3 separate regions of the Homo sapiens genome follow, and all the other regions are linked to region 1. Evidence: promoter capture Hi-C in 16 types of primary human blood cells and fetal thymus (Javierre and others, 2016). All regions are on one chromosome and are shown on one strand. The core of a region is centred on a gene start or on the middle of the fragment in contact, and the rest is flanking DNA. Distances in the headings are between cores, read along the strand shown. Region 1 holds the start of GATAD1 (GATA zinc finger domain containing 1). Region 2 has its middle 15 kb from the start of PTTG1IP2. Region 3 overlaps CDK14 (cyclin dependent kinase 14).

Region 1 (4,358 bases), core at 1,278-3,777:
AATATCAATAACATGTTTTGTGTAATCAACAAATGCCTCACTTAACTATAAAAATCTTAAATAAATTAGAAGCAACTAGTCTGAATAAGAAAATACTTTGGGGAAGGGAACATCACACACTGGGGCCTGTCGGAGATGGGGGCCAAGGGGAGGGAGAGCATTAGGACAAATATCTAATGCATGCGGGGCTTAAAACCTAGATGATGGGTTGATAGGTGCAGCAAACCACCATGGCACGTATACCTATGTAACAAACCTGCACATTCTGCACATGTATCCCAGAACTTAAAGTAAAATTAAAAAAAATTCATTAAATTAAATTAAAAAAAAAAAAAGAAAATAGTCTGCCATCTGCATAAGTCTACTGCAGGGTCCCTTTGTGTTTTAGAAATAAATATGGCCAACTTCAGAAACGTCTTTACGGGTAAGTGAAACATTCCTGTTCTGAAAGAAAAGAATATCATACTGAGACTTAAAAAAATAGTCCATAATGCACTGTCCACTGTGTTTGAACATTATCCCTTGTTTATAAAAACTGAGAATTTAATTGCAATAAAAATATGCTTTCAACTACTTCCAGCACAGGTCTTTCAACAATCTCTTTTCTTAGAGCAGAAGAGGAGATAAGGCTTAGCAAAATTTTTGACTCATATTCATCAAATACATCATCATCATAAGTCAGTAAGATACATTTTCTGGGGCTTTAATAACAAATAAATATGCAAATGATGAGTTCTAGTGTTAATATTTACTTAGATTTTTAAAGAATGAAAAAAAAAAGTTTTCTTAGTGTACCTGGCCATATCAAGAACCATAATCTCTCCTCTTCCTTTCCATAGAGAACCCCAAAAAATGGGCTCAAGGTTGATGTTTCTTTTAAACCCATATTTTATATTTTCCAGGGGAAAAAATAAAAGCTAAAAAACAAAAAGGAAAGAGTATTATTAACTTTATAAACAGTGAGCCTCCTGCAACAGAGCTCATTCCCTTTTGGGGAATCTGGACCATTCCCCAGAATACTAAGGAAGGGCTACCAAGGGCAGAGTCCAAGTTCAATGGTGAGAAATGAAGGCAGTGGCAGGATACACACAACGTCATTACAGTAAAAGGCACTGTCCACAAATATCTTACATTTTTCAATTTAAATATATGTCTTCTCCCTTTTCCTTTGGTGGAGACTTTCTTTTCAGCAGCCGGAGCAGATTTGTATTTAGTGTTTCTGAGCCGAGCAGACCTCCTGTGAATTTCCTGCTTACTCTGTTACACAAACAAATTAAAGAACAAAAAGAGAAAGAAGTAAAAAGTGCATAAAGGTTGCAGTACAATCATCTTACAAGGATCCCAGAGTATGTACTTTATAAGAGCATTTAACAATTAAGATTGCCCTTTTGCTTTTCAAGAGAAGTAATTACAGCAACTAGGCTAAGTAAAACCGGAAGTTCAGCACCCGGAATCTCGGAGCTCGCTGGACAGGCGTCTCCAGAGCCTCCAAAAGGTGTGAGCTGCTTGTAATAGGGCAGGAGGCGGGAGTAGGAGTCAGTCTTGACCAAGACAAACACTATTCATTTGTTGTGTCTACAATAGAGAAAAACACTTAACAACTTTACTCCCTAAGGCCAGAGAACGTAGTAGGTTATGGCGCCCCCTGCAACGGAATACTTAAGCTGCCATTTACAATAATGACATAATAATCTTACTTCATAACCTGATATGACAAAACCTTTAACAAGGAATGAGGTCCAGCGCCTGCATTTGTGGCATGACACTGTATACGACTGTGTAGACATGTGTATATTGAGATTTTCTTAAGGGCTTTACATCTTGGTTCTTATTGCTTTGAATTTCTTACAATAACAGGTGCTTCGGAATGGGCCAAACGAAAGATCTCAGTAGGAGGTGGGGAGGGGCGTTCCAGCCAGCAGGAGCACGGCGATCGGGGAAGCCCGCGCCCGCCCGCTCCCAGCCAGCCCGTCCCCGCCCGCCTAGCACCTGGTCGGCCTCCGCCGGCGGGAGGGGCCGGAGGAGCTCACCTGCTTGCCGCCCCCGCCCCCGTTGCTCTGCGGAGGGGTGGCGGAGGTGCTGGCGAAGGTCGCCGCGCCGAAGCCGCCGCCGCCGCTGCCCCCAGTCCCTCCAGCCGCCCCCGAGCCTGCGCCCCCGCTGCCCGCGCCGCCCCGGCCAGTGCAATGATGGCAGAGGATCTCCCCCTGCGCTCCCTTCTTCCACATGGAGGACGACGTGGTCTTGCATACGCTGCAGGTGGGCTTCAGGCCCAGCGGCATGGTGGCCGGCTCGGGCGGCCCCCGCGGGCGCAGAGACACGGGAATGGCGGACGGTAGCCCGGCCGCCCCCTGGTCGGCCCGCCACTCCCGGCGATAGGAAGAGCGGTGAGAGCGTCGGCACGGAGCTGCCGGTGAAAGGACCAGGCCGCTGGCGCTGCCCCGTGGAGGCGGGAAGCGGGTTCCGCCGGCTCCGCAGGCGGAGGCCAGGATTCCCTGGCCCGAGGCACTGGGAAGCAGGACTGGGAAAGGGATCTGGCCGGGGTGGGGGGGACGCGGAGACTTCCGGCGGTGAGCTGGCCCCAGGGCCCCGCAGCCCGACCGCCTGACCGGAAGTGCAGCACCCGGAATTACTGGGAGCTTGCTGCAGTTCCGCTTGCTGTCGCCTAGGGGCAGGGTTCTCAAACTTTTTGGTCTCAGGCCTAGAATTTGCCGGGTAAAATACAGGACGCCCAATTAAATGTGACTTTCAGGTAAACGACGAACAATTTTTTTAGCGTGAGTGTATCCCATGCAATAATGGTTTATCCGAGAGGCGTTTAACTGGGGGTCCTGTATTTTTATGTGCTAAATCTGGCAATCCAGGTCTGGCGTGGTGGCTCACGCCTGCAATCCCAGCACTTTGGGAGACCAAGGCCGGCGGATTACTTGAGCTCAGGAGTTCGAGATCAGCCTGGCCAACGTGGTGAAACCCCTTCTCTAATAAATATACAAAAATTAGCCGGGCTCAGTGGCGGGCTCTGGGGTAATCCCAGCTACCCTGGAGGCTGCGGCAGAAGAATCTCTTGAGCGCGGGAGGTGGAGGCTGCAGTGAGCCAAGATCGCGCCATTGCACTCCAGCCTGGGGGATAGAGTGAGACTCCGTCTCAAAAAAAAAAAAAAAATCTGGCAATCTTACTTAGGAACCCTTTACACTCTTAAAAATTATACTTTGGACATCGCCCTACACCTCCCCCATGTCTATACTTTTGTTTAGTTGAATTCAGAGCATGCCGTTTATGGACATCGACAAAGGGTTCAGAAAATGCCATCCACTGACATCTATGTATTAGAAATTGAAATTGAGACATTTTACAGCCTAAGATGTCAAGCGCACATTCTTCAGCCGTTGGATAATATCGTTGCAAATCCTGTGGACTCTGAAGAGTATACCGATTAGAGAATGCGGAGAAAATCGAATAGCTGGCTGTTATTCAATTCAAAACTGTTGGAAAACAGTTTTGGCTCTGAGGACCCAGCAGTTGACAAACAGCAGGCCTGGGACAAGAGCAGTATGAGAAGTCAGATCGCCTCTTTTAATGTCACTAGTCAGTACAGGCCTCGCCAGACAAGTCTCTCCTCAGCCTCACTTGGAAGAACATGCCCTCTCTTCATGATCCTGGGTTTCCTAGACTTAGTATCCTTGGAAAGGTCTTGATGAATATATTGTGGTGGGAAGCAGTGGGGAGAAACAAACGCCTATTATGTCACAAAACCACATTTAGTGCTTATAACAACCTTGGAATGAGATATTATCAGATTTTACTGTTAATTGGTGATCAACGGAGGCACTTCTATGTGGACTGGCTGTCATTATAGCTGCTGCCCTTGGCACCAATTTCGAGGAGGGCTTTGGAACAGCCCTCTGGGGTGTGGGTTGTGGCTCAGTCACCTCCCCTCTAAATCTCAGTTTCCTTAACAGTAAAAATAAGTTTCCAGGACTGTTATGGGGATTAGGGCCAACTGTAAAAGTGGCTGAGGAGACTAGGTAAAGAGTGTTGTCTCACTTTAGAACAATGCTGAAGGTGTTTAGAGCCTGCCATCCTAAAATATGCCACTTTGGCATACTGATTCTTCTGAGCCAGAGGCAATGGAGCAAAAACAGATGCAGGGAAGGCTGTCTGACCACCCTCTTTCTGTTTGAAGCGGAACATAAAAGTTCCCTTGTGAAAGGTGCCCTTTCTGTACCAGGAAGAGGAGAATATTATTGCCAGAGGCAGAGTTGCCACTGAGAAGAATCTACAAACAAAACCTTACAAAAATTTGTAACCCATATTTTCCATTAACTTTCTACATACGGTTCTTCGTCACTTTCCCACAATT
Region 2 (4,358 bases), core at 514-3,013, 2.0 Mb after region 1:
TGTTATTGCTTTTTGTTTTTTTCTTTCTCCTGTCCAGTAGAATTTCAGCTCCATGAGATAGGGGTTTTTGCCTCTTTTGTTCACTGAGGTAACCTAAGCATTAGACAGTGCCTAGCACACAGTAGGTGCTCAATACATATGTTTTAGGTCAGGCACTGTGGCTCATGCCTGTAATCCCAGCACTTTGGGAGACTGAGGCAGGCGGGTCGCTTGAGTCCAGGAGTTCGAGACCAGCCTGGGCAACATGGCAAAACCCTGTCTCTACAAAAAATACATAAAAATTAGCCAGGCGTGGTGGTGGGTACCCATAGTCCCAACTGCTTGGGGGGCTGAGGAGGGAGGATTGCTTGAGCCCGGGAGGCCGAGGTTGCAGTGAGCCGAGATCACAATGCTGCACTCCAGCCTGGGTGACAGAGTGGGACCCTGTCTCAGAAAAACTAAAACTAAAACCCAACCATATGTGTCAATTGAATTTTTATCCCCAAATCATTTATCACCTTAATTCTGGTCTAATATTCCAAGTTCTTTCAGAAGTCTCTACTTGAATGTCCTTAAGACAACTCAAACTCAGTATGCCCCAAGTCAGACTCATTTTCCCCATCAAATTCGTTCTTTCCCCTGTTTTCCTAATTGGATTCATAGCATCGATAACCATCCAGTCAGCTATGGGAGACGCCACCAGGGTCATTCCGCATTTTCAGTTTTGGAACAAGTTCCTAGCCCTCTCCTAATGCTAATAAGCATTTGATATTAATACTGAGCCTTTAGCCACACATGCAAATACTATGTTTTTCATTGCTTTAGTCACTTAGTCTCTTGGGGATTACTGTCCACGGGTTTGTGTATTGGTCTGCTAGGGGTGCTATAACAAAATCCCACAGATTGGGTGGCTTTAACAACAGAAATTTATTTTTCACAAATTTACTTCTCTGGAGGCTAAAAGTCCAAGATCAAATTGCTGGCAGGGTTGGTTTCTCCTGAGGTTTCTCTCCTTGGCTCACAGAGGGCCACCTTTTTGCTGTGTCCTCACGTGGTCTTTCTTCTGTGCACATATACTCCCGTTGTCTTTTCCTCTTCCCATAAGGACACCAGTTCTATTGGGTTAGGGCCCCATTCTTGTGACTTCATTTAACCTTAATTAACTCCTCAAAGCCCTATCTCCAAATATAGCCACATTAGGGATTAGTCCATCAATAAATGAATTTTGAGAGGACAAAATTCAGTCCATAACAATTAGACACAATGCTTTTCTGTCCCTTTAAAATTATTCCTGTTTTCAAAAGTTCATTCTTTGTGCATATGCAAACTTTGTTCTTTTCTTTCTATTTTCCATCTGTTTTGAATAATCTCTATTCTTGGCTTTATCATAAACAAATGTATGCCTGCTAAAATAGCTTTTCCCAATACTCTTACTGTTTTGCATTTATCAGGTGTGGATGGAGTTAATATTTGTAAAACATTTTCTAAAAATAGAGAAAAGCAGCTAACAGAGTCAAGAACGGAACACTTCATGGCCCCAAATAACCAACTATGACTACTAATGCCATCTGTTGGCAGCAACAGAAATTGCATGTTTTTTATCTGGATAGTAGCTTTGTTCAGATCTATCACGATCTACGTGCTGAAAATTTGAAGGTAAAGAAATCCCTGTATTCTCTTCCTTTACCTTCCATATTCCTGTCTGTGACAGTAAGCAGCCCAGCAGGAAGGTTAATTGAAGAGAATTCAATGAAGGGACTAAATACAGAGGTGTGTCAAGAGTAACAATAACCAAGGACGGTGAAGCACCCAGTGACTAACAACGAAGAGAAGCTATTACCATCCCTGCAACTGAAGAGACAGAGCAGGGAATGGAAGGGCTGAAATCAGAGAGAACTGAAGGATTGCCCAAAAGAAGCTGTGGTCATAAGGTAAAGGAAACATAGTTTGGCTGAGCGAGTAGGGGGAATAAATACCCAAATCTTTCTCTTCTCCTACTATCTATTCTCCCAAAGTCAGAGGAGCAAAGAAACTCAGATAATGCAATCTGTAGGTCGACGTAGGGCAGAGAAGGATGGAGAATGAATTTGGAGGGTTAGCCAGTGTCTTGATCTGTTTTGTACTGCTATAGTGAAATACCTGAGGCTAGGTAATTTATAATGAACAGAAATTTATTTGGCTCACAGTTCTGGGGGCTAGAAAGTCCAAGGTTAAGGGCCTTCTTGCTGCATCGTCCCGTGGTAGAAGGCAGAAGGGGAAGAAAGCACACATGTGAGAGAAGAAAGGGAGCCAAACTCCTTTTTATTAGGAACCTACTCCCATGATAACTAACCGACTCCCTAGATAATGGCATTAATCCATTCATAAGGGCAGACCCCTCATGACCTAATCACCTCTTAAAGGTCCCACCTCTCAACATTGTTGCATTGGGAATTAAATTTCCAACACATAACTTTGGGGGACATGACGAAATCATAGCAGCTAGTGAATAGTTAGCATAACTTCCCTTCACAAAATGAATTGTCCTCTCTTCTATTTTATGTACAGATTGAGTTCTTAAATGTCTCATCCATGGTTGTAAGTATTCCAACACAAAAAAATGTACTTAAGAGGAACTAATAAATACATATTTTTGAATAAATAAATGAATACTCATTATTTATCTCCATGACTTAAAATTTTGCTGGAGGAAAAAATGGCAACTGTACTCTATTTTATGTTATGCCTTATGCCCAATGAATTCCATCGAAATTCAATACATTAAATTCCAATCCTGAATACAATAAATACAACAATAAAGCAAACAAGATCATTTTTCCTGATTCCTGGCTATATGTTTATATGAGAAACAAATTTAAATAATAAGAGAAAAATCCCCACAGTTTGCCTTTTAAAAATAAAATTTGAAGTATATTTTAAGAATAATAATAGCTCACTTATCTTTTCTTTCAGCGTTAAAAGTTCTTACAAAGGCTTTAAATGAAAGTGAAGAGTTATGTTTATCTTCAAAAGTAGTACTAAAGTCAACACTGAAAGCCCTTGAATGTAGTCCAACAGTTGAACTTTAATAAACAAACAGCCTGTTGAAGGCAGGCAGATTAAAAGTCTCCAGTATACTACAGTTTAATTAGCAAGTACTGTTACAGCCAGGGTCTATACCTCCTTCCCCCAGACACAGAGAAATTATGTTTATGATGACTGGTGTTCCTTTGTTCTGACCATTATAACTGTCAATCACTAAACTGTGGAAGTTGTCTGATATGACATTTAAGACAAACATACAAGTATACTCATCAACTGCAGTCTAATTACTACAGTTGGCTTAATGACAGGGTTGCATCAATTTTTTAGTAGTACTATCAGTCTTGAAATCCTAAAGCAGATAGTCTAGCAGATCTCCAAATGTCATATTCTCTTGTATATTTCCAACTTGGGGAAAGAGAGCATGATGACTCAAGATTGTTTCCTTGGTATTTTGTTGTTATGGAAAAAGGAGCATTTATAATCTATTAGACATTTTTGAGGGCACAAATAACATGAAAATGATATTTCAGTGAAAAATGTACATTTTGCTTGGTTATTATTGCTAAGTGCATTGTTCAGCAAATGTTCTGCTGTATTGAGTTTCAGGCATCACTTGAATTATATTATGGTGAGATTTGTGATTAAGGTAAGCTAACTCAAAATGACAAGCCAAGGGCTTTTAAAACCCACATTTCAATGAAATCTGGCAGCACAAAAACAGCTGCTCTAAGTCTGCTCTTCTAATATTTCAAAGGAAGAATAGCAATGGATTTCTGATACCATATGTGCCAACTGCAGAAATTCTAGAACAGCCTGAGAGACCATGGGTGAAAGGTCACCCTCTGCCTTATACAGATGGCATGTTTAATTATTAAAGAGCAATTTTAATCATTTAATCATTTCAGACCTTGAAATGAAAGGTCTTCTCGGGTATCTCGAAGCTTGTTGCAACCTAAACTCTGCTGTCAAACTTCTAGGGAGCCAGAAAGTAACATATGTGATTTCATATCCTAACTTGATTTACATTCTCACGTGAGTTGAATTTGTTTTACAGGCTGTCGAAAACATTTCTTGGAAAAAAAAAGTTGAAGGTCATGTCTTTAGCAGAGAATTTAAAGTTAAATCTAAATCCAGACTGAAGTCAGTCTTGAATTCCTCAGGAGGATGGCCCTTTCTTTCAGCAGAATTGTTTGTAGTTCTGTTGAAAATTTCATATCTAGCCTCAAAAATATTTTCAGAAATAGTCTCTATAGCTTTTTCCACTATTAAAAATAAACAACACTAGCAAGGTGTCTGGTATGTAATGTTCAATAAATGTTAGGCCCTCCTCTCCTCCCTTCACCAAATGCATGCAT
Region 3 (4,358 bases), core at 1,377-3,876, 1.4 Mb after region 1:
ATTCTGGATACCCAAGAGAGAGACATTCAATATTCAACAAAATCGAAGAATTTGAAAATGGAAAATCTCTCGGATGTTCTGAGAGAAAGCAAATCCTGGGGCAGAGTCATAGGATTTGGATTTAAGCCTATAGCTATATAATAAAGAAATAAGTGCAAAAATAAAAACTTGGGCAGGAGGTTTTTAGCTGAAAATCCTAATTCACCTCACAACACATTATGGTAAAACACTTGCTTCAAGCTGATCAGAAGTTATGTTCTATCTTGCACCACGCAATTTGGTAGTCTCTAGCCACATGTGGTTATTTAAATTTAAACTAATAAAAATTAAATGAAATTAAAAATTCAGTTCCTCAATTGCACTAGCCACATTTTAAATTACTCAATAGCCACACGTGGCTAGTGGTTACCATACTGGAAAGTGAAGATAGCGAACATTCTTGTCAATGCATAAAGATCTATTGGACAGTACTGCTCTATATCCTTAAAATATGTAACGCAGCTTCTAGAAATTTCTACATTCTCATAAAGGAATAGTGTAGTTCACACAATGGGAGGATTTGCCTCTTTAGATGAACGGTAGAGACTGGATTGAGAAAATCAATGAATGTGGCAACAGAGAAGGGGTCCTGATCAGGGACTCACCCCAAAGAAGTGTGAGGCAGGCAAAGGAAGGAGCCCAGCTTTAAGCCCAACGTCTACTCTGAACAGAAAATGTCCCTGTGGAAATGTTTTTCATTTTCTTGGGAAAAATAAAAGGCACTAGAATTTTTTGGCAGTCACAAGCTAAAAGCAAAGGATGTGAGACAGCAGAATTCTAAGATAGGAAGGTAAAGTCCCACTTGACTACCAAATAAAATTAGAACTATAGGTACAGCTTGACTCAAATTCTACACTTCAGTAAAGGGTGACAAGAAATGAGAGCCAAATGAAAAAAATTCCATTTGTATTTATCTTTATAAATATAATGATGTGCTTAGTCCCATTTGGTGGCAAAGGCATGGAGCCTGGTGTAATCCCTAAGTAGCCTCCAAGGTAGGCTGAGCCAATTCATAAAAAATATTCATCATCCAAACAGACACCTAACGTGGCAGAGAGGGACAGACAAAGCATGGGGCAGCTCTGGCTTCTCTAACAGAGACATTTTACTTGTTTTGCTATCGGAAAATATATATATAGCTGCGTATCTCATATTTTACGGAGATAAACAGTTGCCTGTTTTTTTTTTTTTTTCCCCTCAGAGCATGCTGCCCTCTACAGGCCACATGGATATACACATATGTGAAGATGCATAAATAGGGTTCAGTTATATCCAAATAGGATCATTAGTAAAGGTAAGATGAAAAAGAGGGGAGGAGGTTGGGTATATCTGCGTGTCTAAAAGGCTTTAGAATCAAGATGAGAAGCAATCAACATTTATAAGCCTCTGATAAACTTTACCTCTTCAGCCGACAGACATATAAGAAATTATAAACAGTAATATAGTCCTATCATGCCGTTTTCCCTGAGAAACTTAAAAGTATGTCGACAGTCATTTTTTCTTTGTTTTAACTAGGGAGGAGAGGCTGGGGAAGAAAGAGAAGGAAGAATGGTTGACGTGGTTTGATGCCTTTTCCTAACATCTCCAAAGTACATCAGTTTTGATCTAAAACTTATTAAAACTCAGTTCTAAATTAGCAAATAAAAGCCAAAGCATTTAAAGAAGTACACATGATTTTATCCCTAAAAGTTTAATCTTTTAAGCCCTGGCTTCAGTGAAGTAGTTAAAATCTGGCCTAAGAAATGAGAACTACCCTTCATCTTTACTTCAAATCGATTCTTTTGCAATAGTTGTGCCATAAACACACACTCACACACACACATGCACACTCACAGCTGGTATGTTTATTGGTTTAGTCACTAAAGGATTTAGCTGGACAAACATCACAAAGATGATGGCTGATTTAATTGAATTTATGATCAAATGTTTTCTATTGCAGGAAGAGTGGGAAATCACTTATGGGGAGATTTGAATAATTTAAGGGAAGTTCTCTATTTGGCATTATGTTTGTATATCAAGTCTTGAGGGATTAAATACAGCTGAGGACTAGCAGAGAATTCACATAGAGATACACAAAGATATGCTGTATAACAATATAATGAGGGCCAGAATATTGATCCCTTTAATATTTCTATTCATTTGTCTCATTTATAGTCTGAGTAATAATAACCACACACACACACACACACACACATATATATAAACTCTATGAGACTTCCATTGTAAACCAATACTAGATTTTTCTGAAATCCCAAAGATGTTGAAATGATTTTAAAATATTCTTTCAGAGAAGACAGAAAAATAATTGTGTTGGGAGTTGTGTATGTGTGTGTTTCAGGCTTTTCAGTGCATTTTTGTTGTTGTTAAAGACATAATGAAATCTGTTGTTAAAGTAAATGTCACTGCCATGATGGAAATAACCGTTTAACATGGGATCTGTGCCTTAGGGTATGGATGTGGCTCAGTGTCTAAAAGAAAAAGGCCAGTTACTTTCAGAATCCCCTTCCCATTTTCCTCACCACAACAGATATGGCATGGCCATGCTCCCAGCCTTTATTCATTGTGTTTTGAGAGATAATTCATCTACCTTCCCCCTTTAAATGCTGTAAACAGCAAGGATAATTACTTTTAGTCTCACCTCTGAAATGACTGGGCCAAATGGATGCCCAGATCCCACACATCTGGCTTAGGGTTATCCATCAGTTTGTGTACAGGTTATATTACAAGAAAAGGTCCAATAGACATTTGAACTTGGTAACAGTGACCTGTCTATGGGTTTCTTTCAATCTAATTTGGAAAACTGTCTAATAAAATGTGTTTCAAGACTAAGAACAAATCACAGTATTGCATTAATTATGTACAACGCTATTTGTTAACACACCACTCTTAGGAAGAAACTGTTGAGGAAGGGGAAATCTTGTTTTTACACAACAAGCATTAAAAAAAAAAAGTTTTGGTGACCAAGCAGTTCAGCATGTGCCCCTAAGAAGGTAAAAAGAATATTCCAGAAGATGTCTGGGGACTCTATGTAGGAGTGGTATCCATGTTCAAGAGTAATTGCTTATTCGGAGCTGAATGAAACGCTCTCACTGGGAGGTAGGACAGGGAGCACTGAAAAAGAGAAGGGAGGTAAACTAATATTTGCCAAAGGACTGTGTCTAGTAAGGTACCCAGTAATTTATACCCTTACCTTACTTAAAGATTAAACAATAATCCTGCCAAGAGGTTATACAAATTGAAAAGCTGAGGCTCAGAGAGGTTAATGAGCTTCCTGAATATTACACAGCTCAGTAGTGGAACTAGGGATGAACCTGGTTCCTATGCTACCAAAGATGATGCTGGCTCCAAGCATTTAATTGCTATTTGTGTCAATAATTAGCTTGTGCAACCTTCCTTCCTCTCTTCTGTTTTTTTCTTTGCTATGTCAATACTATTTATTGATGGTATATTCTTAGGTCAGTAAGACCACTATGTACACAACATGTTAGATGCAGGTGTTAATAAGAATACTCTAGGAGCTCTATCCTCACAATGAATAGAAATTGAGCCCCAGTATTATAAAGTCTCCCCAAATGAAGAGAGGGATATATTGTTTCATGAAAATCAAATAAGTAGAAGGTGGAATGGGTAACAGTGGATACTAGGGATGACATTGTTGTTAAAATCATCTCTTTCTTAGCTAGGGATGGTGGTAGGTACTTATAGTCCCAGCTACTTGGGAGGCTGAGGTGGGAGGATTGCTTGAGCCCTGGAGGTCAAGGCTGTAGTGAGCCATGATCATGCCACTGCAGCCTGGGCAATAAAGCTGCAAAAAAACAAAACAAAAACGCTAAAAGCGAATAGTGTTTTTCTCCAGTGACTTCTTATATTCATCTTTATTTTGAGGCTGAACATTCACTAAATTTGTAAATATTTTCTTAATCAAATGAAAATGATATCAATAAATTTGAGGAAAGGTATCACATATCATGTGTTTCTTTTACATAAGGAGAGGTAAAAATGACTGCATTTCTGTTCATGCTTCACTTTGTAAAATGTGGTAGTTTTCAATGTCCTAAAACTTAAGAATTAAGATATATACACACACACACACACACACACACCCACAGGGGCCCAGTGAGGAAGACCTGGATCAGCTCTTTATTTGGAAGGCTTATTTAGAAAATGGAGCCCCTCTCAATAGCATCTCATATGTGATGAACAGGAAGCTGAGCCTTTACGGTGTTTTCTGAGTAGAGTTAGGGGAGATCAAGGAGATCGGGAACAACAGCAGAGAGGTGAATTCTTAAGGGAGTTCAAAAAGGGTAGAGAGCTGTGTG

The links. Contacts are between HindIII fragments. The CHiCAGO score rates a contact against its expected background, and 5 or more counts as called.
Region 2: a contact is called between a fragment that was not itself captured here and the fragment with the promoter of GATAD1 in region 1, in 4 of 17 cell types (naive CD8 T cells, total CD8 T cells, total CD4 T cells and 1 more). The highest score is 11.5, in naive CD8 T cells.
Region 3: a fragment that was not itself captured here is called in contact with the fragment with the promoter of GATAD1 in region 1 in 3 of 17 cell types (naive CD4 T cells, fetal thymus and non-activated CD4 T cells); the score reaches 10.2 in naive CD4 T cells.

Annotation. Positions count from the first base shown.
Region 1 is chr7:92,445,651-92,450,008 of GRCh38, reverse strand. GATAD1 (GATA zinc finger domain containing 1) reads right to left here and starts at 2,527. Exons shown (of 5, transcript NM_021167.5): 1 at 2,031-2,527; 2 at 1,132-1,257. The coding sequence starts at 2,279. RefSeq lists an enhancer at 1,358-1,407 and a silencer at 1,838-2,607. The HindIII fragment of the contact is 4,596 bases long and covers 1-4,358 here.
Region 2 is chr7:90,452,809-90,457,166 of GRCh38, reverse strand. No RefSeq gene overlaps it. Among named protein-coding and RNA genes, the nearest start is that of PTTG1IP2, 15 kb to the left of the region's middle. The HindIII fragment of the contact is 4,367 bases long and covers 1-3,946 here.
Region 3 is chr7:91,086,445-91,090,802 of GRCh38, reverse strand. The region is part of intron 12 of CDK14 (cyclin dependent kinase 14); the gene reads right to left. Among named protein-coding and RNA genes, the nearest start is that of FZD1, 180 kb to the left of the region's middle. The HindIII fragment of the contact is 5,564 bases long and covers 1-4,358 here.